Regions from separate parts of the Homo sapiens genome. Here regions 1, 3 and 4 are each linked to region 2. Evidence: promoter capture Hi-C in human tissues and cell types (Jung and others, 2019). All regions are on one chromosome and are shown on one strand. The core of a region is centred on a gene start or on the middle of the fragment in contact, and the rest is flanking DNA. Distances in the headings are between cores, read along the strand shown.

What was found. Contacts are between HindIII fragments. The study calls those that stand out against the background at their distance.
Region 1: a contact is called between a fragment that was not itself captured here and the fragment with the promoter of AMT in region 2, in 1 of the 25 tissues and cell types used here (lymphoblastoid cells).
Region 3: a contact is called between a fragment that was not itself captured here and the fragment with the promoter of AMT in region 2, in 1 of the 25 tissues and cell types used here (IMR-90 fibroblasts).
Region 4: a fragment that was not itself captured here is called in contact with the fragment with the promoter of AMT in region 2 in 1 of the 25 tissues and cell types used here (liver).

Annotation. Positions count from the first base shown.
Region 1 is chr3:49,176,639-49,183,749 of GRCh38, forward strand. CIMIP7 (ciliary microtubule inner protein 7) reads right to left here. Exons shown (of 4, transcript NM_001080528.3): 3 at 1,844-1,900; 4 at 996-1,414. The coding sequence ends at 998. Among named protein-coding and RNA genes, the nearest start is that of KLHDC8B, 8.6 kb to the left of the region's middle. The HindIII fragment of the contact is 5,587 bases long and covers 1,136-6,722 here.
Region 2 is chr3:49,421,053-49,427,695 of GRCh38, forward strand. It overlaps AMT (aminomethyltransferase), which reads right to left and starts at 1,421. Exons shown (of 9, transcript NM_000481.4): 1 at 1,309-1,421; 2 at 1,052-1,219; 3 at 440-520. The coding sequence starts at 1,398. It overlaps NICN1 (nicolin 1, tubulin polyglutamylase complex subunit), which reads right to left. Exons shown (of 6, transcript NM_032316.3): 2 at 5,200-5,376; 3 at 4,831-4,944; 4 at 4,315-4,386; 5 at 3,897-4,001; 6 at 1,281-3,822. The coding sequence ends at 3,781. RefSeq lists enhancers at 296-1,048, 1,049-1,802. The HindIII fragment of the contact is 4,289 bases long and covers 1-2,218 here.
Region 3 is chr3:49,637,982-49,644,225 of GRCh38, forward strand. It overlaps BSN (bassoon presynaptic cytomatrix protein), which reads left to right. Exons shown (of 12, transcript NM_003458.4): 3 at 4,287-5,171. Among named protein-coding and RNA genes, the nearest start is that of APEH, 33 kb to the right of the region's middle. RefSeq lists enhancers at 209-710, 711-1,210. The HindIII fragment of the contact is 7,249 bases long and covers 1-6,241 here.
Region 4 is chr3:49,662,648-49,668,846 of GRCh38, forward strand. It overlaps BSN (bassoon presynaptic cytomatrix protein), which reads left to right. Exons shown (of 12, transcript NM_003458.4): 7 at 229-1,019; 8 at 1,140-1,239; 9 at 1,776-1,907; 10 at 2,152-2,206; 11 at 2,582-2,671; 12 at 4,943-6,199. The coding sequence ends at 2,192. Among named protein-coding and RNA genes, the nearest start is that of APEH, 8.6 kb to the right of the region's middle. RefSeq lists a silencer at 3,949-4,243 and an enhancer at 3,949-4,243. The HindIII fragment of the contact is 4,016 bases long and covers 2,527-6,199 here.

The DNA.
Region 1 (7,111 bases), core at 2,679-5,178, 240 kb before region 2:
CAGCTTATTCTTTGGCAACATGTGATGACAGCGCCTCCTTACTGTCCTGGGGATTAGAGAGCACTAGGGCAGTAAGGAAGGGCTGTCACATGTCACCAAAGGATGGCAGGATAAGATGACCAGAGAAGTGCTCAGAAAACAACAGAATACCACAAGGTTAGGAAGACCTCCAGATCCAAGTTACAGAGTGTCTCCTTAGGGTCTCTGCTCACCCCCACAGGGAGGGGTGGTGCAGTGGGTTCTGTGGCCCAGGGCAGTCTCTTTCTGTCTCAGCTGTGGGGCAGCCGTCTCTTGGACAGGACTGTGTGGCCACCCAACAAACCCCTCAAAGGCAGCTGCCTCCTGAGAAAGCTGCCAACTCTTCCTTCTTCCAGCCTTTGTCGCCCACTAGTACTGGTCTCTGGGGTCTGCTTTCCCCATAGCTAAACTGAGTACTTGACCTGCTTCCCCAGTGATGCCTTTCATTCTAGGGTGAAGCACCTAGAAAGTCAGTGGCCCACAGGATATTTGCACATTGTCTGGCACGCTGGCAGAGGAAACCAACACAGAGATGTCTCTGGGGGAATGGGCTGTTTCCCAGAGGAGAAAGGTTGTGGGGAAGTTAGTCACTCCGCTGCCTTCATAAGGAGCCCTCCCTCAGTGTCACCCCCTTCACCCTGCCACCTGCTCTGTCCTGACTTCAACTTAGGCTGGGGACTGCCCTCTAATCTTCCTCTCTACAGCTGGGTTTACTGCAAGAACAGAGTAGTACTTGGGGCCCTGGAACCCACCTGATGTGGCTATAGCAATCCTCCTGGACTCTTAGCCTCCTGCAGGCCTTACCCTTTCTCACTTAGTGGCAGGGATCCCAGAGCAGCACCTCCCATGCCCAGCACAGAAACACACCATGGGCACAAGTGCCATGGGAGACAGGCACAGGACCTGGCAGCCTACTACTACCTTTCAGCCTCTTGGGCTACATCCCATTGTGGGCTGCAAGCACAGACAGGCTGCTGTGTCAGCTGTCCTTGTTTAATGCTCTGGACCAGTTTAGACACTCAGAGACCCCAGCATGAAGGTAGTGCTGCAGCAGCTTGGGTCTTGGGATCCCTGGGAGGTCAGGCAGTACGTCAGTGACCGGCGCCTGGGGCCCTACCTTGTAGCTGCCATAGTGGCCACCCTGGGATGGGCAGCAGAAGTTCTGCTGGTAGGTGGTCCTGGTATGGGAAGGCTGGACCTGCACAAAGTGGATGAGGTGCTGGGGGAGGCCACTGAGTCCTGGGCCTGGCCTGAAATCAGCCTGGTAAGAAGATTCCAGGGGCCCCTGCTGGCGCAACTCTATCTCACAGGGTGCCCAGCGCAGGAAGGTGTGCCGCTGCCACAGGCGCTCCAGGTCCTTCCGCCTTCCGATTCCCTGCAGCAGGCAATAGGGACCCTCCTCAACGGTATGGGCCCTTGGCCCACATTCCTGGCACCAAGCACCTTCTTGGGCCCCTCCTAACCCCAAGTCTGCTTGGTGATACCTGTCCTATGCCTGGCTGTCTTGGCCTGTACCCTGGCCTCCTTGGCCTGCCTCCCCAGTGATGTCTTTCATTCTAAGGTGAAGCACCCAGAAAGTTAGTGGCCCACAGGATACTTGCATATTGTCTGGCAAGTTGGCAGAGGAAACCAACATAGAGATGTCTCTGTTTGGGGGAATAGGCTGTTTCCCAGAGGAGAAAGTTTGTGGGGGAAGACAGCCACTCCTCTGCCTTCATAAGGAGCCCTCCCTCAGTGTCATCCCCTCCACCCTACCATCTGCTCTGTCCAGACTTCAGCTTAGGCTGGGGGACTGCCTGCCATTCTTCCTGTCTTCGGCACTCACTTTGTCAAAGGAAGTACGGTTGTCGTGCTTGGAGAAGAAGTGTCGCTGCGCCGGCTCCTTGAAAGACAGTGAGAAAGAAGGTGAATGGGGAAAATGATGCTTATTTACCCACCCTTACCTGGATCACTGCCTCAGGGTCCTTAATGGAGGGAAGTCACCAGGAGCCACTGCCCCTAAGCTGCTAAACTGCCAACAGACAGAGGGCAGAGACTAATTAAAGCAACACTTCAGTCCTGGGATATCTCAACCTGGGACTTGCCCTGAAGCAGAAGCCCGTGGAACCCTTATTGAGGAGGGTCCTCAATAAGGAGGCATCTGCTAGAACATCCTCCCATCAGGGGAGCAGTGGCCAAGTTTCAAGTTGGGCCTTAACTCTTGATTGCCCAGGACTCTAGTCCTCTCCTCCCCTGCATCCACACTTACTCCCCCATCAACATACCCAGCCTCTTGGCTCTAAATGCCATCTGAAAACTGGAATTTCTATCTCCAGCTCAAACTTTCTCCTGAACTTTGGGTTCAGTAGACAACTGCCTACTCCACATCTCCATGTAAATGCCTAATTGAGCATCTCCAAACATATGACTGAGCTTTGGGTCATCCCCAGACACACTCCACCTATAGCCTCCCCCAGCTCAGACCACGGCAGCCAGATCCTGTCAAACACCTTGAGTCCCCTTGATTCTCTTCTCTCATACCCCACATTGAATATGCAAGTATCCTGTTGATACTGTGGTCAAAATGTGCCCAGGACCAGACCACATCTCAGCATGCCCACTCTTTTCCCCGATCCAAGCCACATTACTCTCTTGCCTGAATTATTGCAAGAGCTTCCTGCCTGGTGTCCCTGCTTTCAAACTTACCCCTCCAGTCTGCTGTCTGCTTAGCAGCCAGCATAATTCTGTTAGTACATAAATGAGATCACATCTCATTTGCTGAAAATCCACAACAGTTCCTCCTATTTGTGATAGCCAAAGTCATCATAGTGGTCTGTGAGACCCACATGATATTGGTCCTTCTGTTACCTCCAGCCACACTGATTTCCTCACTGCTCCTCAGACACACCAGGTGCTCCCACTTAGGGCTTTGCACCACCTGTTCCTTCTCCTGGCCATATAATTCCCTCACACCTCCCTCTTTTCCTTCCTTGAGCACTAGGCCAATAGTTCCATCACCCTAACCCTGCATTTTTCACCTGCTAACATACTATATTGTTCTATGTGATGTTACCCCCACTGATTAGAACATCTCATGCCCCGCCATTAAACATAAGCTGCTTGTGGGCAAAGGCGGTCTGTCTTGCTCACATCTATAACTTCAGCACTGAGAATAATGCCTGACACAGCTCAATAAATGTTGCTGTTAAATCAATAAACAGGCTGGGCACGGTGGCTCACACCTGTAATCCCAGCACTTTGGGAGGCCGAGGCGGGTGGATCACCTGAGGTCAGGAGTTTGAGACCAGCCTGGCCAACATAGTGAAACCCCGTTTTTACTAAAAATACAAAAATTAGCCGGGCTTGGTGGCTCATGCCTGTAATCCCAGCACTTTGGGAGGCCGAGGCGGACAGATCACTTGAGGTCAGGAGTTCGAGACCAACCTGGCCAACATGGTGAAACCCCGTCTCTACTAAAACACACAAAAAAATTAGCTGGGTGTGATGGTGTTTGGCTGTAATCCCAGCTACTCAGGAGGCTGAAGCAGGAGAATTGCTTAAACCTGGGAGGCAGAGGTTGCAGTGAGCTAAGATTGAGCCACTGCACTCCAGCCTGGGCAACAGAAAAAAAAAAATTAATGAACAGGGACAGAAGGTCCTGGCCCCAGGGCATTTACTTTGGCTCAGTTGGAGCTAGAGAGCCTTGCTCCACTCCCATGCAGAGAAAGCCCATCTCTTAGGCCTCCAGACTTCAGCAGGAATCTGTCCCAAGAACACCTTCTTGCCTTTGTGCTTGGCTTCTGCCTGCAGAGCCATTCCCTCTCCAGTCACTCAGTTTCTCCTGCTGTAGACCTGAAGTGGCCAGATCTGGTGAGGTCAGGCTTGGCTGGCTTGGGAGTATAGGTAATGGCTGACAGCAGGTCCCCAGATAAAATACAGGGGCTGGCTCCATCCCTGAACCAGAATCTTCAGAGTAGAGCTTATTGTATGTGTGTTTAAGAGTTCCCTTTTTAGGCCAGGTGCGGTGGCTCACGCCTGTAATCCCAGCACTTTGGGAGGCCGAGGCGGGCGGATCACGAGGTCAGGAGATCGAGACCATCCTGGCTATCATGGTGAAACCCCGTCTCTACTAAAAATACAAAAAATGTGCTGGGTGTGATGGCGGGCGCCTGTAGTCCCAGCTACTCGGGAGGTTGAGGCAGGAGAATGGCGTGAACCCGGGAGGTGGAGCTTGTAGTTAGCTGAGATCACACCACTGCACTCCAGCCTGGGCGACAGAGTGAGACTCCGTCTCAAAAAAAAAAAAAAAAAAAAAAGAGTTCCCTTTTTAGAACCGCCTGCCTTAGACAGTCTGATGGTAGTCTTCAAGCAGAATGAAAACTCCAAGAAGGTGGGAAGCTTTCATTCCTCAAAATGCAAGCTGAGGCTGGGCACAGTGGCTCATGCCTATAATCCCAGCAGTTTGGGAGGCAGAGGCGGATAGATCACTTGAAGCCAGGAATTCGAGACCAGCCTGGCCAACATGGTGAAACCTTGTCTCTACTGAAAATACAAAAATTAGCTAGGTGTGGTGGTGGGCGCCTGTAATCCCAGCTACTCGAAAGGCTGAGGCAGGAGAATTGCTTGAACTTGGGTGGTGGAGGTTGCAGTGAGCCGAGATCTCACCACTGCACTCCAGCCTTGGCAACAGAGAGACTCTATCTCCAAGAAAAAAAAAAAAAAAAAAGCAAGCTGAGGCCGTGCAGTGGCTTACACCCGTAATCCCAGGACTTTGAGAGGCCAAGGAGGAAAGATTGCTTGAGCCCAGGAGTTCAAGACCGGCCTGGGCAGTGTGGAAAGGCTCCCAGACACTGTCTCTACAAAAAATAACAAATTAGCCAGGCGTGGTGGTGCATACCTGTGGTCCCAGCAACTAGGAAAGCTGAAGTGGAAGGATCACATGAGCTTAAGAGGTCAAGGGTGCAATGAGCCATGATCGTGCCACTGCGAACCAAGCTACAGACTGGGAGAAAATATTTATAAACCATATATCCAACAGAGGACTAGAATATATAAGGAAGTCTCTCAACTCAACAGTAAAATCACAGTCTAATTAGAAAATGGACAAACATGAAGACATCTAACCAAAGAAGATTTACAGACGACAAATAACACATGAAAATGTGTCCGGAATGGGTGGGTTCTTCGTCTCACTGACATCAAGACTGAAGCCGCGGACCCTCGCGGTGAGTGTTAACAGTTCTTAAAGGCGGCATGTCCGGAGTTTGTTCCTTCTGACGTTCGGATGTGTTCCCAGTTTCTTCCTTCTGGTGGGTTCGTGGTCTCGCTGGCTCAGGAGTGAAGCTGCAGACCTCCGCGGTGAGTGTTACAGCTCTTCAGGCGGCGCGTCTGGAGTTGTTCGTTCCTCCGGGTGGGTTCGTGGTCTCACTGGCTTCAGGAGTGAAGCTGCAGACCTTCGTGGTGAGTGTTACAACTCATAAAGGCAGCGTGGACCCAAAGAGTGAGCAGCAGCAAGATTTATTGCAAGGAGTGAAAGAACAAAGCCTCCACAGCGTGGAAGGGGACCAAAGCGGGTTGCCACTGCTGGCTGGGGCAGCCTGCTTTTATGCTCTTATCTGGCCCCACCCACATCCTGCTGATTGGTAGAGCCCAGTAGTCTGTTTTGACAGGGCACTGATTGGTGCGTTTACAATCCCTGAGCTAGACACAAAGGTTCTCCACTTCCCCACCAGATTAGCTAGATACAGAGTGTGGACACAAAGGTTCTCCAAGTCCCCCACCAGAGTAGCTAGATACAGAATGTCAATTGGTGCATTCACAAACCCTGAGCTAGACACAGGGTGCTGATTGGTGTGTTTACAAACCTTGAGCTAGATACAGAGTGCCCATTGGTGTATTTACAATCCCTTAGCTAGACATAAAGGTTCTCCAAGTCCCCACCAGACTCAGGAGCCCAGCTGGCTTCACCCAGTGGATCCCGCACTGGGGCTGCAGGTGGAGCTGCCTGCCAGTCCCGCGCCGTGTGCCCACACTTCTCAGCCCTTGGGTGGTCAATGGGACTGGATGCCATGGAGCAGGGGGCGGCGCTTGTTGGGGAGGCTCGGGCTGCACAGGAGCCCAGGGAGTGAAGGGGGAGGTTCAGGCATGGCAGGCTGCAGGTCCCGAGCCCTGCCCCGCGGGAAGGCAGCTAAGGCCTGGCGAGAAATTCAGCACAGCAGCTGCTGGCCCAGGTGCTAAGCCCCTCACTGCCCGGGGCGGGGGGGCCAGCCACTCCGAGTGCAGCCCGCTGAGCCCATGCCCACCCGGAACTCACGCTGGCCGGCAAGTACAGCGCGCAGCCCCAGTTCCCCCTCTGGCCTCTCCCTCCATACCTCCCCGCGAGCTGAGGGAGCCGTCTCGGGCCTCGGCAAGCCCAGGAAGGGGCTCCCACAGCGCAGCGGCGGGCTGAAGGGCTCCTCAAGTGCCCCAAAGTGGGAGTCCAGGCAGAGGAGGTGCCGAGAGCAAGCAAGGGCTGTGAGGGCTGCCAGCACGCTGTCACCTCTCAAAAAGATATTCATCATTAAACATCAGGGAAATGCAAATTAAAACCACAATAAGATATCACTACACATCTATCAGAATGGCTCCAATTGAAAATGGAGACAACATCAGGTATTGGTGAGAATGCAGAGAAACCAGATCATTCATGCATTGCTGGTAGGAATATAAAGTGGTAAAGCCACTCTCAAAAACAGTTTGGCAGTTTCTTTTAAAAACTAAACATGCAGCCGGGCGCGGTGGCTCATCCTGTAATCCCAGCACTTTGGTAGGCTGAGGTGGGTGGATAACCTGAGGTCAGGAGTTCAAGACCAGCCTGGCCAATATGGTGAAACCCTGTCTCTACTAAAAATACAAAAATTAGCTGGGCATGGTGGCACACACCTGTAATGAGATTGCTTGAGCCCGGGAGGCGGAGGTTGCAGTGAGCTGAGATCGTGCCACTGCACTCCAGCCTGGCCGACAGAGTGAGACTCTGTCTCGAAAACAAAACAAAACAACAAAAACACTAAACATGCAACTACCACATGACCCAGCAATTGTATTCCTGGGCATTTATCCCAGAGAGACAAAAACA
Region 2 (6,643 bases), core at 171-2,670:
CGCCACCACGCCCGGCTAATTTTTGTGTTTTTAGTAGAAACGAGGTTTTGCCATGTTGGCCAGGCTGGTCTCGAACTCCTGACCTCAGGTGATCCACCCGCCTTGGCCTCCCCAAGTGCCAGGATTACAGGTGTTTGAGTCACGTCGCCTGGCCAGGGACCACATGTTGAATAGAGAGGGGTTAAGCAGAAGGGATGGCCAGAGAGCAGCATATTAACCTTGGTTTCTGGCCTCCTAGCCTGATGTAGTAAGACTGGGATATTCCCCTCCCTACAAATGTCTGTGTCTCTGGAAATGACTCAGGGATTCTGTCCAAGACTGCAAGCCCTGAGAAGCTGTGTTTGACTCATCTCTGTGCCCCTAAGCCTGAGGTAGGGACTCAGCCCATTTGCTGGCTCATGACTAAGAAAACTCATAGAGCAGAAATAAAAGGGCCCACCTGGTTTGGTCTTAGCTCTGCAATGTCTCCAACCACTAGACTCTCCATCAGCTTCACCCGGTCACTACCAAGTATCTTGGTCTGGGGAAGAGATTGAAAGCCTCAGGCCATTGCAACAGCTACAATCCAAAAGGCTACTAAGCAAGGATGCATCCTCCCTGCCATCCACAGTGCAGTCCAGCCCACCCAAAGTGACTAACCAGTCTTTTGGTTCTACACGTGGCAAAGGACCACCTTCTGATTTCCTGACCTCCCCCAGTCACTCTGTGTGGGGGGACTGCCAGGGAACTGGACAGGACCTAGCACCTTCCTGAAATAACCCCTTTTCAAACCAACATCCAGCCCAATACATGAGAGTGGGTGTCAGCCCTGGAAAACCCGGGACATTAAGGCACACCATTTAATGGGGGCAAGCTAGAAGGATGAGATGATGAGACCCTCTGAGCTCATTTCCTTGGGGCCATTGACCTATCCATGACACCCCCATGACCTCTAGCTCTTCTGAGAAGGCTGTCCTTGGAATCCAGTTCACAGCAAACAAAGCCAAGGAGTGGACCACTGTAAACAGGGAGGAAGGCCTGATCAGATGGCCAGTGTGCTCCCCTGGCTCACCTGCAGCATATGAGACACGTCAAAGAGCGAGCAGTGCTGGCGTGTGTGCAGGTGCGAGTCAGTGTGACTGTCCCGGTACTGCACTGGCAGACTCCAACCCGCAAACGCCACCATTTTCCCGCCGTGGGCCAGGTGGAAGTCATAGAGCGGTGTCCTGCGGAGCACCTCCTGTGGGCGGCTGGGCTTAGTGCCACCAGGGCCCTAGCCCCCAGCCGCTTCCCTCCCCCACCCTCCAAGATCAGCACCCTCTATCCCACCTGTGCGCAACTAAGTGGACGACACAAGGCCGGGGGGAATGCCTGCAGGCGAAAGCCCAGACGGGCCACCACACTTACAGCCCTCTGCATCGTCGCCTGCAACGAGTGCAGACGGCGCACAGAGGCCACCACACTGCCAGGCACGCCGGGAGATGTAGTCCAGGCCTCTGCTCGGACAGGTCTCTCTCCGGAGCAAAGGATCTGAAGGGGGCGTGGGCAGCCCCAAGGGCAGGCTGGGATTTAGAGCAGAGAATGCAGGAACCCGCAACCACAGGGAAGAAGCCTCCAGCTCTTTCGGCTGACTCTTCAGGGCAGCTCGGGCAATCCAGAGCTGATTGGGCTGCCCAGAACAAAGCTAGGGGCTAGACCGCCCCCTGCAGAACCGCCCTGTCTCCAGAGGGTCAAAGTTCTGGAAAGGGCTGAAAGGTCTGAATCATACCTTTAGGACCTCAAGAGAGTAAGGTCAAGTGGGGGTGGGGAAGGTGGGCCAGCCTGGCAGGTAGGCAGCACCACAGTAGTCTGTCCTCATGTGGACCCCTAGTTCCACAGCTCTCCCACCAGGCAGACACAGGCAGCCAGCAGTCATGCATTCCACAAGTATTTATTGATCTTACTGCATACCAGGCCCTCAGATGGGGACACAGCCACGAATGAAGCATGGTCCCTGCTACCACAAGGTCCTCTTCACTTACACACACACTGAGGACTACTGCTTCGTCACGCTTTCCGAAGCAGCTGAGTGGGGCTATGTAAGTGACCTTGCAGATGAAGTCGCCACCTGCAAGAACTCACAGGTGAGAACAGAGGGTGGCCACCAAAAGGTCACTGAACTCCCCCGAGAAAACTGTTGAGCCACACACATGTCCAACTTTCCAGGTCCAAGACATACTGCAGTACTGCTTTGTAATAGCCACCAGGTGCAAAGCCAGGAAGAACCAGAGGGAAACAGGTTTTTCTCACATGAGGGAAGAGCAGCCTGCATCACTTAATGGTTGGACTGAGTTAATGCAGGACTTAGGCCTCTTAAAAGGCAACAATGAGAACCCTTACTTGGACCCACTCCCCACCACGGTTGATCTCTCATTATGCTGAGCATATCTCTTGGAAAGGGGCAGGGCGGGCGCGGTGGCTCATGCCTGTAATCCCAGCACTTTGGAAGGCCAAGGCAGGCAGATCACCTGAGGTCAGGTGTTTGAGACCAGCCTGACCAACATGGAGAAACCCCATCTCTACTACAAATACAAAATTAGCCAGGCATGGTGATGCATGACTGTAATCCCAGCTACTCGGGAGACTGAGGCAGGAGAATTGCTTGAACCTGGGAGGCGGAGGTTGCAGTTAGCCAAGATTGCACTATTGCACTCCAGCCTGGGCAACAAGAGCAAAACTCAACCTCAAAAAAAACAACAAAAAAGGAGAGGGGCAACTGGGAGAAAGGATAGAGATGTGCTTTGGGCTATGTCAGATGGCAGAAGGGTCCCAGTTCTTTTTTTTTTGTTTGTTTGTTTAAGATGGAGTTTCGCTCTTCTTGCCCAGGCTGGAGTGCAATGGCATGATCTCAGGTCCGCAACCTCCACTTCCCGGGTTCAAGAGATTCTCCTGCCTCAGCCTCCCAAGTAGCTGGGATTACAGGTGCCTACCACCACGCCCAGCTAATTTTTTGTATTTTTAGTAGAGACGGGGTTTCTCCAGGTTGGTCAGGCTGGTCTTGAACTCCTGACCTCAGGTGATCCGCCTGCCTGGGCCTCCCAAAGTGCTGGGATTACAGGCGTGAGCCACTGCACCCTGCCTAGAAGGGTCCCAGTTCTTATGCTCAGGCCCTGGTTTTGCTAGAGACACGTGCCCAGGCCCTATGGGCACACCCACTTGAACATATATTCAGGAGCCAGCTCAGAAACCAAGAGACTCAGGCTGCCCAAATCTTCAGGTTTCCTTCCTAGGCAGGCAGCAGAAGAGTTCAGACAGGAAATTTCTCTCTGTGGCATAACACAAATGGAAAGAAAACCACTAGGGGACACACAGGAAGAAATAAGGTTTCTGTTTCTTCCTCAAGTGTCCCAAGTGCCATGGCAGCAATGGCCTTCCAGGTCCATACATGGAGCAGGTTTTAGTAGGTCAGCCCAGCCCAACTGCACTGACATGAGGGAGCAGGCAGAAGACAGGAATGTGCATGTTGCCAGAAGGGGCAGAGGGCACTCAGGGATTCTCAGTAAGTACAACTGACTGGAGTGTTTTTGGGTAGAAGGAAGAATTGAGTTGCAGCCAGGCGAAGACAGAGCACCCCCATGCCAGGAGCTCATGCTGAAGTAACACGGTAAGCCCCTGAGAATCCTGAATCTGTGAATGTGGCCCAGACAGAACAGGCATGCAGGCAACACTTGGAATGCACAGGAAATACACTTCAGCCTCTGGTGGCCCAAACCAAGTCTGGGTGGGCACAGAAAGGCCAACATCTTGGCTAGGAGCAACCATTCAAGTGTAGGAGAGCAAGTTCAGGTCATAACAGCCATCCACCTGAAATACAAAAGACCATCAGGTCTGATCTGCTCAGGGCAAAGCAAGCCAAGCAGAAGGAAGCGATTACTTACATCAAAGCGGCCGATCCTTGCGGAGGTGTGACTGGCCCGGATCATCTCTGTCAGTGCCCACATCTGCTGCACCTCGGAGGATACCCTGCTGGGGTCTGGGAGACCCTGCTCCAGAAGGAGGGGTCAGTGGCCATGGGTCTCTCCCCAGCAGTGCCCTTCAGGCTCCAGAGAGGCCAACCTGGGCTAGGGGCCCTCCAGCTGAGACCAACAACATTCTCAGATGGCTTATGAAACATGAGGTTAGGGCCTGATGTAGCCCCACAACAGAGATGCCTCAAATCCCACAGAATACCCAGGAGGAAGATAACACCCAAGGGCCCTGGGCCCAGCCCCAGAATTTTACAGGAAGGGGTCTACCTGGCCTGTGTTGGACACTAGAGCCATTCACACATGGTTCTTACCTAGGGTGAGGGCTTACCTCACGGAGGAGTGCAGGTTGCTCACAGGGCACTGGGTGGGAGAGCCACTTGGGAAAGGTCACGGAGGGGCTCTGCAAAGCAAAGATGTACTGCCCTGAGTGAGACAAAGTGGACAGCTCTGGGACCAGATTCCAAGGTCCTAGGAGCAGAGAGAAGGGCCGCTGGGCCTCAGACACTGGGAAAACCCTGTTTAGGGAGCCCACAGAGACCTAAAGAGGCAGTCAGACTACCTAAGTTCTCCTGCTGTGCAGACGGAGTCCTCAGAAACACAAGCTCAAAAGTGTCTCCCAGCACCTAAAGGCTCCAGCTCTGAAAGTAGCAGGTGGCCCCAAAGGTCAGGGGATATGGGGACATGGCCTCACCTCTCATTGTGAGCTTCCAGCATTCACACCCAGCTAACCTCCATGAAGGCCCCATTCACAATCTTCACCCATTACCCACCCCACCACCTAGCTTTCCCAGTCATAGAAGCTTTCTGGGGAAAGGGCCAGCCAGCAGCTGAGCTAGTCACTTACCTTTGGTCCCTGCTGATAGATCTGCAGCTCCTCCACTGTGAAAGACAGCCACAGTGGTGATGGCTGCCGCAGAATCAGGCGTAGCTCCGATATTCTAGCCATGTCACACAGCATCTGACACACACACACAAGGACCCAGCAAGGATCCAGCTCACTGCCCAGAAGCCTCCCAACCAGCAATGAGCCAGAATGCTGCCCACCCCACAGGCCTTGGGAAGGAAGGAACAGTAGTCCCTCCAAGGCACTTCCCTGGAAGTCACAGTTCAGGCCAGACTGGCCCCCTCTTCCCTCTTGGTATATTGATCCAATCCCCCCACCTCTGGTAAGTCCTCATCTGGGCTGCCCTGGCCATCCTGAGGCCCAGCTGACCTGATGCTTGAACAGCGATACATACTCCTGGGCTCCCTCCTCACTGTGTGGGTCAGGCATTAGGCAGTAGTCCCGCAGGCAGGTCACCCACTTGGCAGGTGTGTGTGCTGAGGTGTACTGACGGACACGGATGCTCAAAAAAGCTGTGTAGTAATTCTTAAACGTGATTTCCTGCAACTAGAACACATACAACCCATTACAACAAGTCAGACCCAGGCCCAGGGGCCTGAAAAGCTCAAAGATCAAAGGTGCCACCTCTTCCTTCTCCCCACCTTTTCTTTTTTTTTTTTTTTTGAGAGGAAATCTTGCTCTTTTGCCCAGGCTGGAGTGCAGTAGCGTGATCTCAGCTCACTGCAACCTCCACCTCCCAGGTTCAAGCGATTCTCCTGCCTCAGCCTCCCTAGTAGCCGGGACTACAGGTACGTGCCACCACGCCCAGCTAATTGTTTTGTACTTTTAGTAGAGACAGAATTTCACCATGTTGGCCAGGATGCTCTCAAATTCCTGACCTTAGGTGATCCACCTGCCTCTTCCCCTTTCAATGTACTCTTCTACTAAACTAACAATTTCAACAAGTATCACTAGGGCCCAAAGACAATTCTGCCTTCCTAAAGGTGCTCACAGTCTAAATGAGTAGGTCCTGGAAACAAACCACGACTGCAGATCTTGCCACACGTCCAAGATGCTGCTAGAGAGCAGCGCTCTAACCCTGGAAGAGGCAGAAAATGTACATATGAGGCCTGAAGGAGGAAGAGTTCACCAAGTGGACTAAGAAATGTAGAAAACGTGGCCGGGCACGGTGGCTCAAGCCTGTAATCCCAGCACTTTCGGAGGCCGAGGCGGGCGGATCACAAGGTCAGGAGATTGAGACCATCCTGGCTAACACAGTGAAACCCCGTCTCTACTAAAAATACAAAAAATTAGCCGGGCTTGGTGGCGGGCACCTGTAGTCCCAGCTACTCGGGAGGCTGAGGCAGGAGAATGGCGTGAACCCAGGAGGCGGAGCTTGCAGTGAGCTGAGATCGCGCCATTCCACTCCAGCCTGGGCGCGACAGAGCAAGACACGGTCTCAAAAAAAAAAAAAAAGAGATGTAGAAAACGTAGGCTGGGTGCAGTGGCTTACATCTGTCTGTAATGCCAGCACTTTGGGAGGCTGGGGCGGGTGGATCATTTAAGTTCAGGAGTTCGAGACCAGCCTGACCAACATAGTGAAACCCAATCTCTACTAAAAATACAAAAATATTAGCTGAGCGTGGTGGCGCATGCCTGTAATCCCAGCTACTCGGGAGGCTGAGGCAGGAGAATTGCTTGAACCCAGGAGGTGGAGGTTGCAGTGAGCCAAGATCAAGCCACTGTACTCCAGCCTGGGTGACAAAACGAGGCTACCTCTCAGAAAAAAAAAAAAAAAAAAAGAAATGTAGATAATGTAAAAGTAGCATATACA
Region 3 (6,244 bases), core at 1,367-3,866, 220 kb after region 2:
CTTAGGGTAGCCCCAGGAAGGCTCCTGAGACACGAGGCTCGTGGCTGGTAGCCTGCACATCTCCTGCCCATGTGCCAGATCAGGATCTTGGAGGTATTAGACAGCAGAACCCTAGCTGAGGCTTCTTGTCACACTGGTAAAAGGATAGTCCCTCTGATTCTGATGGAGAGCCAGCTTGGAGAGGGCCTAGGAGCCACAGGGAGCCTTCTGGGTTCAACCTCTTGATGAGGAGGCATCACTGTGTGCAGCTAAGGAAGGCTCTAACTGTACTGGCACTCAGGCCAGTGGAGTCTGCCACAGAACTATTCATGTATACCCAGGCTGGGTGGGCGGGTGGGTTGGGGTGCACAGCCATCATCTCTCTCCCTACCCCGTGGACAGCCTCCATCCCCCTGAGTGTGGGGATAGGGGCCTTGCAGTATGGAGGAAGAGACTGAGGTTGGGCTCCTCCCAGGAAACTGCTGGGGATCTGTCGGGGAGGCAGAGAGGGGGATGTATTGCTGGCCTCAGAGAGCTCCCTCAGCCAGTGTCCTCCTTAGGAGGCCTTGCATGCTGGGCCTGAGCCTGGGAGGGGCTGTGGGGAGGGTGCGGTCAAGGTTCCTTACCGTCTGGAAGAGGCTGGATAGAAATAGCTGCACCCATCTGGGCGATGAGTCACTGAGGGGCGTTTCAGCCTTTTCTTGGAGAAGTTCTATTTTAGGTGAGATGCCTGTGCCACAGCCTGGATGACAGGGGCTGGGGAAAGGAAAGTTCTGGCGGTGAGTGCAGGCGGTTTGGCACGTGCCTTTGTTCAGCCTGATTCAGAACCCCAGGGACAGTCACCCCAAAGTTGCAGGATAAGAAGCCTTACCTCCTAAATTCCCTTTCCCAGGAAGAAGTCTCACCTCAGGGCATGCTGCAGTGCCCAGGTGAATGAGAGAGATGGGACGTTGGGTGTGGGCTGGGCACCCACGGGAAGAACTGAATTTGTGGCTGCCACCCTGGGCCAGAGGCTGAGCTTCCCCTCTGAGGAGTAATCCCCTTCCAGGGTCCCTCTCTGGATGAGTAGAAATGGCCTGCTCTGGGGAACTCTCACTTTGATGGGAATAAGCCCCTCCCTCCCAAGAATGACCTTTCTAAAGAGGTCTTTAGACTGGGTTCAGGGACTGAAATTGTTTTCTCTCTGGCTTTCTCTACCCAAACATAGACAAAGCTGCCTTGCTTCTTTCTTTCTTTTTCTTTTTTTTTTTTTTTTTGAGACAGAGTCTCGCTCTGTTGCCCAGGCTGGAGTGCAGTGGCATGATCTCGGCTCACTACAACCTCTGCCTCCCAGGTTCAAGCGATTCTCCTGTCTCAGCCTCCCAAGTAGCTGGGACTACAGGCATGTGCCACCACACCCGGCTAATTTTTTCTATTTTTAGTAGAGACGGGGTTTCACCATGTTAGCCAGGATGGTCTCGATCTCCTGACCTCATGATCCGCCCGCCTCTGCCTCTCAAAGTGCTGGGATTACAGGCGTGAGCCACGGTGCACGGCCTGCCTTGCTTCTTAAAAAGCATTTGGGTGGGTTAATTGTTCCCAGCTAGTGGGATGGCTTCTCACCTCACTGCCTCGGCATCACTGTTCTTAGAGTTTCTAGAACTGGGATTGGCCTTTGGGGGGCTCTGCCAGGGTTTGCAGTGCTGACTTCTAGAGCCTGACTTGGCCTTTGGAAGAGGCAGGACTACAGAAGGCACCAGGCTCCAGGCTGTCCAGGCTGTGGTTTAGGAGCTACGCAGAGCTGTCAGGGCTGATCTTGCCAGCAGCAACACTTCCTAGCCAGGGAACCATTGAGAACACATTGCTAAAACATCTCAGATCTTGGTTTTCTCTCCTGTGAGGACAAAATGAGAGAATGCCTGTGAACATGCCCTATGTGGTGCTTGGCACAAGGGGGTGCTTGCCAAAGTGCAGTGTTCTCCCTCTTCTTGGCTGCTGCCCTTGGGTTGCTGGGATAAGGCACCTGAGCCCAGGTCCCCCAACTGGCAAGTCAACCTGTAGCAGTAGCCCTGGGGCCTCAAGGCAGAGAGCAGGGCTGGAGCCACGTGTGGGTAAATAAAAGGGGCCTTCTGCCCCAGAGATGAGACGGCACCTTCCCCTGGTGATGACTGGGTGGCCAATAGGGTGCATTTAGAACCTCTGGCTGCAACCACAGACAGAGAACAACCTTGGCCTCCAGCCTCAGCTCTGGTTGATGAGGAGGAGACTCTTCATTGAGGCACCAAATCTCGGGGCTTCCACCTTGTTGAGCTATGACCTGCATGACCAAATTGCCAGGATGAATGAAGCAAGCCCCTCTGGGATGAGCCCTGCTCTGTACCACATGTTGTGTGCAGCCCTGAGAACACCCTATCAACGAGAGCTCATGGGCTGCTTTGGGGCACAGAAGACACCTTGTAAACAACAAATCAGTAGACACTTTGGGAAAGAATAAGCACTATGGAGAAAATAAGCTGGGTGATTTGACACAGAGTACCCGGAGGGTGTTTTATTTTTATTTATTTATTTAATTATTTTGAGATGGAGTCTCACTCTGTTGCCCAGGCTGGAGTGCAGCGGCACAGTCTTGGCTTACTGCAACCTCCGCCTCCTGGGTTCAAGCAATTCTCCTGCCTCAGCCTCCCAAGTAGCTGAGATTACAGGCGTTCGCCACCACACCTGGCCAATTCTTACTATTTTCAGTAGAGATGGGGTTTCACCATGTTGGTCAGGCAGGTCTCGAACTCCTGACCTCAAATGATCCTCCTGCCTCTGCCTCCCAAAGTGCCTGGATTACAGGTGTGAGCCACCGCACCTGGCCAAAGGAGAGCATTTTAGATTGTGTGGCCAGAGGAGGTCCTGGTGGGAAAGTGTTACCTCATCTGAAATCTGTACAACAAGCTGGGCCAGGGGGCAGAGGGAATAAGGAGTACAAAGGCCCTGGTACAGAAATGAGCTCAGGGGACCACTTGGCAGAGCAGACAGCCTAGAGTGTCTGCAGTGAAACAGCCAAGGGGAGATGGCAGGAAAAGAGACCAGAGAGAGGGGGAGGCTGGGGTGGGGCTGGGTTGGGTCACAGAGTTGTGCTGAAGAGTTCCCAAGGTGTGGTGGAAATCCACTTAGAGTGTTTGATCCTATTGGTGAGATGCTCTGATTTACATGTGGGTTTTTGGAGAAAAATTATTGGGTCATGTAACTGGAAGTCCAAGGGTAGACTTGGGGCATAGCCAGATCCAGGGAATGGAATGAAGTCATCAGATCTACTCCTTTCTCCTTTCGTTGACTCCTACCATCTATGGACATCATTCTTAGCATCTCTCTGTATGTTGGGAAAGAAGACTACTGCTGCTGCAAAGCTACATCCTTCTGATTAGTAATCCAAAGGAAAACGAATAAAGACCCTCTCTCCTGTTGTTCATTACCAGATAACGTGGAGGGCTCTAACCGACTCTGTTTGCCAGGTCACGTGCCCATCCCTGCACAGGGCTAATGGCAGAGGGAAACTATGTGTTTATCACATGGATAGCGGCACATGTCTCGTTTGCTCTGGAGGCATGAATTATCCCACTTCTTTAAAAAGCTATCTTCCTTAAGGGAAAAAAAAAGGCTTTAAAAAATTCTACTTAACATCAGTCACTTACATTGCATTACTTTACCCTCGCTTATTTTGTTCTCAAGATTTTTCATTCTGTAGTATCTTGTTTCTTCAGCTAGACTCTAAGCTTCTTCAGGATAGGAATCATGGTTTCTTTTTATTCTCTATGCCTCCTTCTCCCACGTATTACTCTTCACTTATTTATTCATTATGTGAGTTTTTACTGAATACCCATTGCATATAAGCACTGCTCTAGGGCCATGCCTTTCCTCTTGGGTTAGGTTTTAAAAGATCAGTCTGGCTGCTATGTGCAAATGGCCTGAAGTGGGAAGCAGGGGAAGGCTACTGGGTTCATCCGAGCGGGAGGTTGGGGTGCACAGATCTGAGGCACTGCCAGGGGGTGGCGGGGAGGACTCTCAAGCAGGAGGGTCTGGCAGGCAGTGAGTTGGTGGTTGGGGTGGGGTGGGGGATGGGACTGCCTCCACTGCCTCACATGCCTGGCAACTCCTAGAGGGCAGGGGAGTGCCATCTGTCCTTCAGCCCTGCCACCTGGCAGCCCAGAAATGCCTGAGCAGGGCTTGGTGCTCCTGCCTGTGCTAGGAGTGGCCTTGGCTGCTGTGGGGCCTGCACTGACCTGGGCCATGAGTACTGCCAATCCTGGCCACCCTGCTGACTATTTTGCTTTTCTCCTCAGGTGAAGGAGTGGCTCTGTCTGAACTGTCAGATGCAGAGGGCTCTGGGAATGGACATGACCACTGCACCTCGCTCCAAGAGCCAGCAGCAGCTGCACTCCCCAGCCCTGTCTCCTGCCCACTCCCCGGCCAAACAGCCCCTGGGGAAGCCAGACCAAGAGAGATCTCGGGGCCCAGGAGGACCACAGCCTGGGTCCCGCCAGGCTGAGACAGCCAGGGCCACCTCAGTGCCGGGGCCTGCCCAAGCAGCTGCCCCTCCAGAGGTGGGGAGGGTGTCTCCTCAGCCCCCTCAACCCACCAAGCCTTCCACAGCTGAGCCCAGGCCACCTGCAGGAGAGGCCCCGGCCAAAAGTGCCACCGCAGTGCCCGCTGGGCTTGGTGCCACTGAGCAGACCCAGGAGGGCCTCACTGGTAAGCTCTTCGGCCTTGGCGCGTCACTGCTAACCCAGGCGAGCACCCTCATGTCTGTGCAGCCCGAGGCTGACACCCAGGGCCAGCCTGCCCCCAGCAAGGGGACACCTAAGATCGTCTTCAATGATGCCAGCAAGGAGGCTGGCCCAAAACCCTTGGGCTCAGGGCCCGGGCCTGGGCCAGCACCTGGAGCCAAAACTGAGCCTGGGGCTAGAATGGGTCCTGGATCTGGACCTGGAGCCCTGCCGAAAACTGGGGGAACAACCAGTCCAAAGCATGGCAGAGCAGAACATCAGGCAGCATCGAAGGCTGCTGCCAAGCCAAAGACCATGCCGAAGGAAAGGGCCATCTGCCCACTGTGCCAAGCCGAGCTCAACGTGGGCAGCAAGAGCCCAGCCAACTATAACACATGCACCACCTGCAGGCTCCAGGTGTGCAACCTGTGTGGCTTCAACCCAACACCCCACCTGGTGGAGGTAAGAGCTGGACCAAGCATGCTCCCTTGAACCTTGATGAGAGGCCGGGCCTGGGTAGTGAGTGTCATGGGAACCAGAAAGAGTTCTGGGTCTGCAGCAGCCATGGGGCTGCTCCTGTACAACTAATGCTGCAGAGGGGCTGCATTCCCTTTCCTGTCCCTACCTCAGGCCCCAGTTCTACTCAGAACTAACTTTCACTCAGAGTTGGGGGTAATGGTGCCTACTGACTCAGACTAGTGCCCTAAGGCTGATCCCAGAGTCCCTGAGCTGGCCTCCCCATTTCCAGCTACCATGGGCATGGCCCTGATGAAAGACACCAACCTCCCCTGCTCAGATAGGAGAACCTGAGGTCCCACACTGCCATGGACCTGTGACCTTCAGAGGGGTGGGGATCGAATGGCCATGATGCAGAGGGTTGCGTCCCACATCCAGGGTGGGGTGGGAGGCTTTCTCACAATGGGGCAGGGCATGTCCCACTGTCCAGGCTCCAGCCCAGCAAGGTGGTATTCAACCTTGATTGTCTCTTCTGAGGTCATAAGTGTTGACGTCTACTTGTCAAAGTCACAGCCTTTGGTCCACATGTTTTACCCAGGCTGGGGCTGGGCTCTCCTTAGAGCTGCTACTGGGGATGCTCAGAGATGCTTCTCTTTCCCACAGGAAGGTTTGAGACAGACCTGGGGTTGTGGCCATTCTCTCCGCAGCCCCTGCTCCAGGGAAGGGCACTGAGCACTGTGCAGTGCTAGGCAGGAGGGAGCAGGAGGCCCAGTGTAAGGTTCAGTGTTCCCTCGAAGCCTGGAGTCCAGCCCAAGAGGCTCAGAAGGTGAAGGTGCCCTGGCAGAATTAGACCAGCCTGGGCCAGGAGCAGATGCTGCTTCTGCTCCTCCCTCAGTCCTGTGGCCCACTCTCCCTGGCCCAGGGTCACCCATGTGACCCTTACCATGCTGCCTTGGGCGTAGCTTGGTGTGTCTCCTTAGAGTGCCCTCAGTCTTGATAGATGAATGTGTTTCCCAGCTGTGTCACGTTAGGAGATGTTCGAGCCAAGGCCCTGCCTCTTGCACATGGGGAGCCACCTG
Region 4 (6,199 bases), core at 3,285-5,784, 240 kb after region 2:
CAGCAGGGTCTGGTCTGGCGCCTCATCTGGTGGGCCCTGCTGCAGGCAGGCTGCCCTTGCCTGCTCCATCTGTGCCCTGGTCCGTGGTTGCGGGAGGGTGGGCTGGGGGCCTGCTGATCTGCTTGTGGCTGTGGCACCCACTCTCTTGGTTTCTTTGCATGGCTTCAGCTAGGCCTCCCCCTGCGGCTAGCCCGGGGGTTGATGGTATTCTGTTTTTGGTCTCTGAAGCGTATCACCTGGGCCAGGAGGAGACGGACTGGTTTGATAAGCCCCGGGATGCCCGCTCTGACCGGTTCAGGCACCACGGGGGCCATGCAGTTTCCTCCTCCTCCCAGAAGCGAGGCCCTGCCAGGCACAGCTACCATGACTACGATGAACCCCCTGAGGAGGGCCTGTGGCCTCATGATGAGGGTGGCCCAGGCCGCCATGCCTCAGCCAAGGAACACCGGCACGGTGACCACGGGCGGCACTCAGGCCGCCACACTGGTGAGGAGCCGGGACGGCGTGCTGCCAAACCACACGCTCGGGACCTGGGTCGCCATGAGGCCCGGCCCCACTCTCAGCCCAGCTCTGCTCCAGCTATGCCGAAGAAGGGTCAGCCTGGGTATCCCAGCTCTGCTGAGTACTCACAGCCATCCCGTGCTTCATCCGCATACCATCATGCCTCTGACAGCAAGAAGGGCTCCCGGCAAGCCCACTCCGGGCCCGCTGCACTGCAGTCAAAGGCAGAACCCCAGGCGCAGCCGCAGCTGCAAGGTCGGCAGGCAGCTCCAGGACCACAGCAGTCACAGTCACCATCATCCAGGCAAATACCCTCTGGGGCAGCATCACGCCAGCCACAGACACAGCAGCAGCAGCAAGGTCTTGGGCTGCAGCCCCCACAGCAGGCTCTGACACAGGCTCGGCTGCAGCAACAGAGCCAGCCAACCACCCGGGGCTCAGCCCCTGCTGCCAGCCAGCCTGCAGGGAAGCCTCAGCCAGGCCCCAGCACAGCCACAGGTCCTCAACCAGCAGGACCGGTAAGCAGAGCTCCCATGCATGGGTTGTAACCAGGGAAGATGCTATGAATGAAGCTTGGACATCCCCTTGGTTCCAGGCTGGGCATGGGCAGAATCTTAGCTATAGGTTCTGTGTTGCAGCCACGGGCAGAACAGACAAATGGCTCTAAAGGGACAGCCAAAGCACCGCAACAGGGGAGGGCTCCTCAGGCCCAGCCAGCACCAGGACCTGGACCTGCAGGTGAGCCTATCCTTTGACACCCTTGGCTGTGGCCCAGAGCACCCAGGCTGTTCTCTCTCTATACCACCTGTGCCCTGAGCTCCCCCACACTGCATGCCCTCACTAATCCCTGAGAAGGTGCCCCAGGGGCTGTAGACCTCCCCAGCAGAAAACAAGCCTGGGGTTAGAATAAGCCAATGAGGTCACCAGCACAGGGGCTTTAGGGCCCAAGCAGCTTTGGGCAGAGAAGCAGGAAGGCACTGGTGAGCACAGGGTGGGGACCATGGCTTCTTGCTCCCTCCTTCCTTCCCCTTTCCTGCTCTTCTCTGCCTTTTTTTCCCTTTCTTCTTCTTTCCCTTCCTCAACCTCCTTTTTTCTGCCTTCTCCCACCCCTTGTCTTCCTGTTCTTACCTTCTTCTCTTTATTTCCCTAGCCTCCTTCTCACCTTCCCACCTTATAGGGTACCTGTGTTCAGATTCTCTCGTGGGTACTTGCCCTCTTAGACCCTAAAGAGCCAGGCCGTGCATAGCTCATTATGGCGATTTCTTTCCTCCTAGGTGTGAAGGCTGGAGCCAGGCCTGGAGGAACCCCAGGGGCTCCCGCCGGCCAGCCAGGTGCCGATGGGGAGAGCGTGTTCTCCAAGATCCTCCCTGGCGGGGCAGCCGAGCAAGCTGGCAAACTGACGGAAGGTATGCACTGCCTGCAACTGGTCTGTGGTGGGTGGCTACTCTGGTACAGGCTGGGTCTGTGAGATGATTCCAGACTCAGTCACCCAGGCAGAGGCCAGCCAGAGAGCCCACCTGCTGATGCCCAGTTGTTCTCCGGGCAATCTCTGCCCCTTGGGCTGAGCTTGCCTTCACTATGCCAAGTGGCCCTGACTGGGAGGGGTCTGGCCCAATTTCCTGATGGCTCTCTCCTCTTTCTTTGTCACAGCTGTCTCTGCTTTTGGCAAAAAATTTTCCTCATTCTGGTGACCATGCCCAGCATGGTGAGTACAAGCAGCCTGTACCTTGCCTCTTCTGGGAAAGGCCCGAGGCACTGGGGGTGGGGGTGGGGCTCTAAGTCCGAAGGGGTCCTCTGGGAGGAGTCCAGTCTTCGGCTGGTTCAGTACCCAGAGCTGCAATGTTCCCTTCTCTGAATGTGGGAGGAGAAAAAGGAGGGACACTGTGCACAGAGCCCCTACCATGGGGCCAACACAGTAGGGGTCCCCAGCAAAGGAGGGGCCAAAGCCAGGGCCAGTGCCCTGGCTTTCAAACCATCTGCCATCCCCTGCAGGGCTCTCACAGCACTGGGCTGGCACTGGGTTGTAGGTAGGCCTCCAGGGATGCAACTCCTCTCCAGCCCTCCTCTAAATGCTCCACAGGCTCTTGAAGAAATGAAGAGAGGTATCATTGCTGTGGAAAAATCTCTGGAGTCAGAGGCCTGGGCGCAGCTCTGGACTCTGCGTATAACAGTGAGTGTCAGGATCAGGGTGAGATGGGCCGGAGGAGGGGTGAAGGGCCAAGGCCTGGCTGATGACAGCTAGCCAGTTCTGACAAGTGTGAACTGGGAAGGGCCTGTTGGGTTTCCTTCAGCTGCGATGGGCCCAGCAGCCCTCTACCCCGCAGAGGCAGGGGCCACAGAGCTGCCTGAGATGGTGCCAGACAAGTCAGGTGGCACCCTTGGAGAAGAGCCCAGCACGGCTAACTGCACCTCACAACTTGAAGTCTATGTGCTGGGCACTGAGTTCAAAGTCATCCTGAAGGACCTGGTAGTCTGTGGCACCTGTAGGGGAACATGCTTCTTCCCTGATGTCTGCTGCTGGTGCCTTTGCTCCAGCCACTTGGAAGAGATTAGAGTCCCCAAACCCCACAGAGTCACATCTGCAGCTCTGGGAATGAAGTCAAAACACTCCTGGCTTCACAGGCTGAGCTTGTGGCCCACAGGATAGAAGAGTGGAAGGAGTAGAGAGGCAGACAGGAAGGGACATAGAGGAAAGGGAGTCTCAGCCCCAGACTAAGTCAGCTCAGGGAGAGGGCAGAAGGGCCTCAGGATGGGAGCCCTCACCCTGTCTGGGCTGCAGTGGCCAAGGCAGGTTGGGACACCACTTCCTGGAGCCTGTCCTGGCCCTGGCCCTGGCCCTGGCCTTGGCCCTGCCTCTGTGGGAGGAGGAGGAAGTGCATCATCCTGGGTGGGAGGAGAATCACCTGGCTGTTGGTACAGCTCTGTGCACAGCCAGGACCACTGACCATCATCCCATAGCCCTCGGACCCTCCTCTTCTCCCTCCTTGCCCCTTCAGGGTGCTTCTCACGGTGCACAAGCATGTATGTGTTATCCATGGCGGGGCCTGGCGGTCAGTGAGCAGGTCACTTCAAGGGAGCCCTGGGGCTGGCAGATGCTGGGCCCGGGCCAGCACTGGTTGTGGGAGGGAAGGAGCTAGGTGTGATACCTCACAGGCTACCTTTCTCTGGAAAAGCAGTGGGGCCCTGGAAAGGCCCAGGCTTCCGTCCATTTATTCAACAAATGTTTGTCAAGCCCCAGGTATGTGCCAGGCACTCTTCCAGGATCTGGGGATATGGCAGAGAACAAAACCAAGTCCCTGCCCTCTGAAGCTGACAATCCATTAAAGGAGATAGAGAATAAATAAGTTTAAAAATAAAATTCAATTAAAAAGGTACTTTCTGAAAGTGATGAGTGTTATAAAGCCAGAGAAGCAGAGCTATGGAAGCAGTGGGGTCTGCTCTAGACAAAGTGCTCAGAGCAGAAGATATGTGAGGGAAGCTTGAGGGAGGAGGACGACTGCGGTGGGATGAAAAAAGGGGAGGGAACAGCACTGACGGATGATCGGATGCTGGGATGGGACCAGGGACAGGGCAAAGGCCAGTATAGCCAGGGCCACAGTGGAGGGGAGAGGTGGTCAGGGGTAAAGTCCAAGGGGGTGGGAGCCAGCTGGGGTGGGTTGTGCAGGCCAAGTAAGGAGCCTGGAATTTATTCTAATTACAGTAGCCATAGTGCAGCCCTTAGCGTTCTTCCTGCCTTCACCCTCCCACAGCGGGCTTCCTGCGGCTTCCCGCTCAGCTGATGTTTCCTTGGAGTTGCCCTGGAACAGATGTGAAATCACAAGTGGTGCTGAAAGTGGGGGAAGGAGGGACAGCCCATGGCCTGGATTCATGACAGTACCTACCTTGGGTTTGGGGCCAGGGTATGGCTCCTGAGCAGGGAAAGGAAGCACAGACACAGCTTTGTTCTGCGTCCTGCCACATGGTGTGGTTGGGCCACTGAGACCACTGACTTTATAGTTAAAGAAATCTCCCTTGAGTTCTAGCATTCGGCTAATGATTGGGTCAAGTGGACAGTGCTGCCGTGAGTATCCCTCTCCTGAAATTCTTTACGGCAATTTCAGAGATGGGCTTGGAGAGGTTTGCCATTTCAAACCAAATCCCTTCTCCATCACTCTTAAGCCAAAAAAAAAAAAAAAAAAGGAACTTTTGTTACATTAAAAGAAGTGTCCCTTCCTGGCTGACCTGATTCTTCTTTCTTGCTGTCCTCTCTGTGACCTCCAACCTGCCCAAGCACCCATCTCCCCAAGCCTGAGTGGCATGGCACCCCGTGGGTGAGGAGGTGGCCGCTAGCACAGGCAGATGGCTGAGAGGAATGTGAGGGTGAGAAGCAGCTATCTACAATTCTTGACAGAATCCTTTCTTTTCTTCTTTCCTTCCTCCCTCCCTCCTTTTCTCTTTCAAGCATCTACAATCTGGCAAACCCTTGGCCCAAAGACTCACCAGGTGGGACGTGGCAGGCAGGCCTCAGTTGAGGACGTGATGTTTTCTCACAGCAGCTGCCTGGGTGAAGCATCTGCTGGACAAGTCGGACCACTGGCCAGGGGACCTTTGATTGTCTTTCCAGAGATGCTGCTCTCTGCAGGGCACCACCTTCAAGGCACAGCCCTTGTTGGGAGGGAGAACCCTCTCCAGAAACCCTGCCACCATGGTGTCTTGCCGTACTTCCCACAGCCGCCTTTTTGCGGCCTGGCCGGCCAGGCTTCCCGTGCGTTATACACAGAGTTTGGGCACACACTGCCCTCCCTCCGAGATGCCAGAAGTTTTTCCACAGCCTTGGAGAGGGGCTTTGACTGAGGGCTGGGGGCCCTGGGCTCCGTTTCCTTCACATTCCAGCTGGCCCGGATCCCTCTGTGGCACAGGGCCCTGCCCGTCACATGCCCTCTGGGTGACATCGGAGCAGACCTCCATGTGGCCAGGGGTTGGGAGAACTTTACAAACATTAGGACCTAACACTGTCTCATCGCTGAAATAAGAGGCCATAGCACCGAAAAGCAGCGTGGGCGCCGGCTGAGGCTTCTCCCAGCCCGTGGGTGGCAGCGTGCTAGCACACTGCCACCATCTCAAAGCCATCCCCCTAGCCATCGTGAGCATCCCAGCGGCACCGCCATTGTCTCAACCAGCCGGCTCCTCGTCTGTACACCTGGGGATTTCTTTTGATTTCAAGAACAGCCTTAATCATTCCAGTTTGATTTACGTGTATACCTCATAAACATTTTTCTTTTGTTTCTCTCTCCCCCTTTCTCTCTTCTCTTGGCTCACTCCCTTGCCTCTCCCCCTCCACCACCACCTTGTGACTGATGGTTTGGTTTCCTCTCTGCTCTGCCCCTGCTCAGCACAGGGAGAATGTTGACTTAGAAGCAATAGGGGGCAGCAGGCCACCAAGAGCACAACCCCAGGGCGAGGTCTGGGGAGGCCTCCCAGCCCGCCTCTGTTTACTGTGCAATTCCAGTCGTTCTTAAGCCATCACCAGTGGGTGTACTCAGAGCAGAGGGGCCAGGACTTCTGCCAGCCAAGGGAAAGGCCCAGAGCCCTGTGCGGGGGAATGTGGCACTGTCTATCCATCCGGTGGACTGGGCAGCATTCCTCCCCAGGGCTCTTCCCTTGGGGGCCTCCTTTCATCTGGGGCACAGCCACAAGTCTCATCTCTAACGTTCTATGC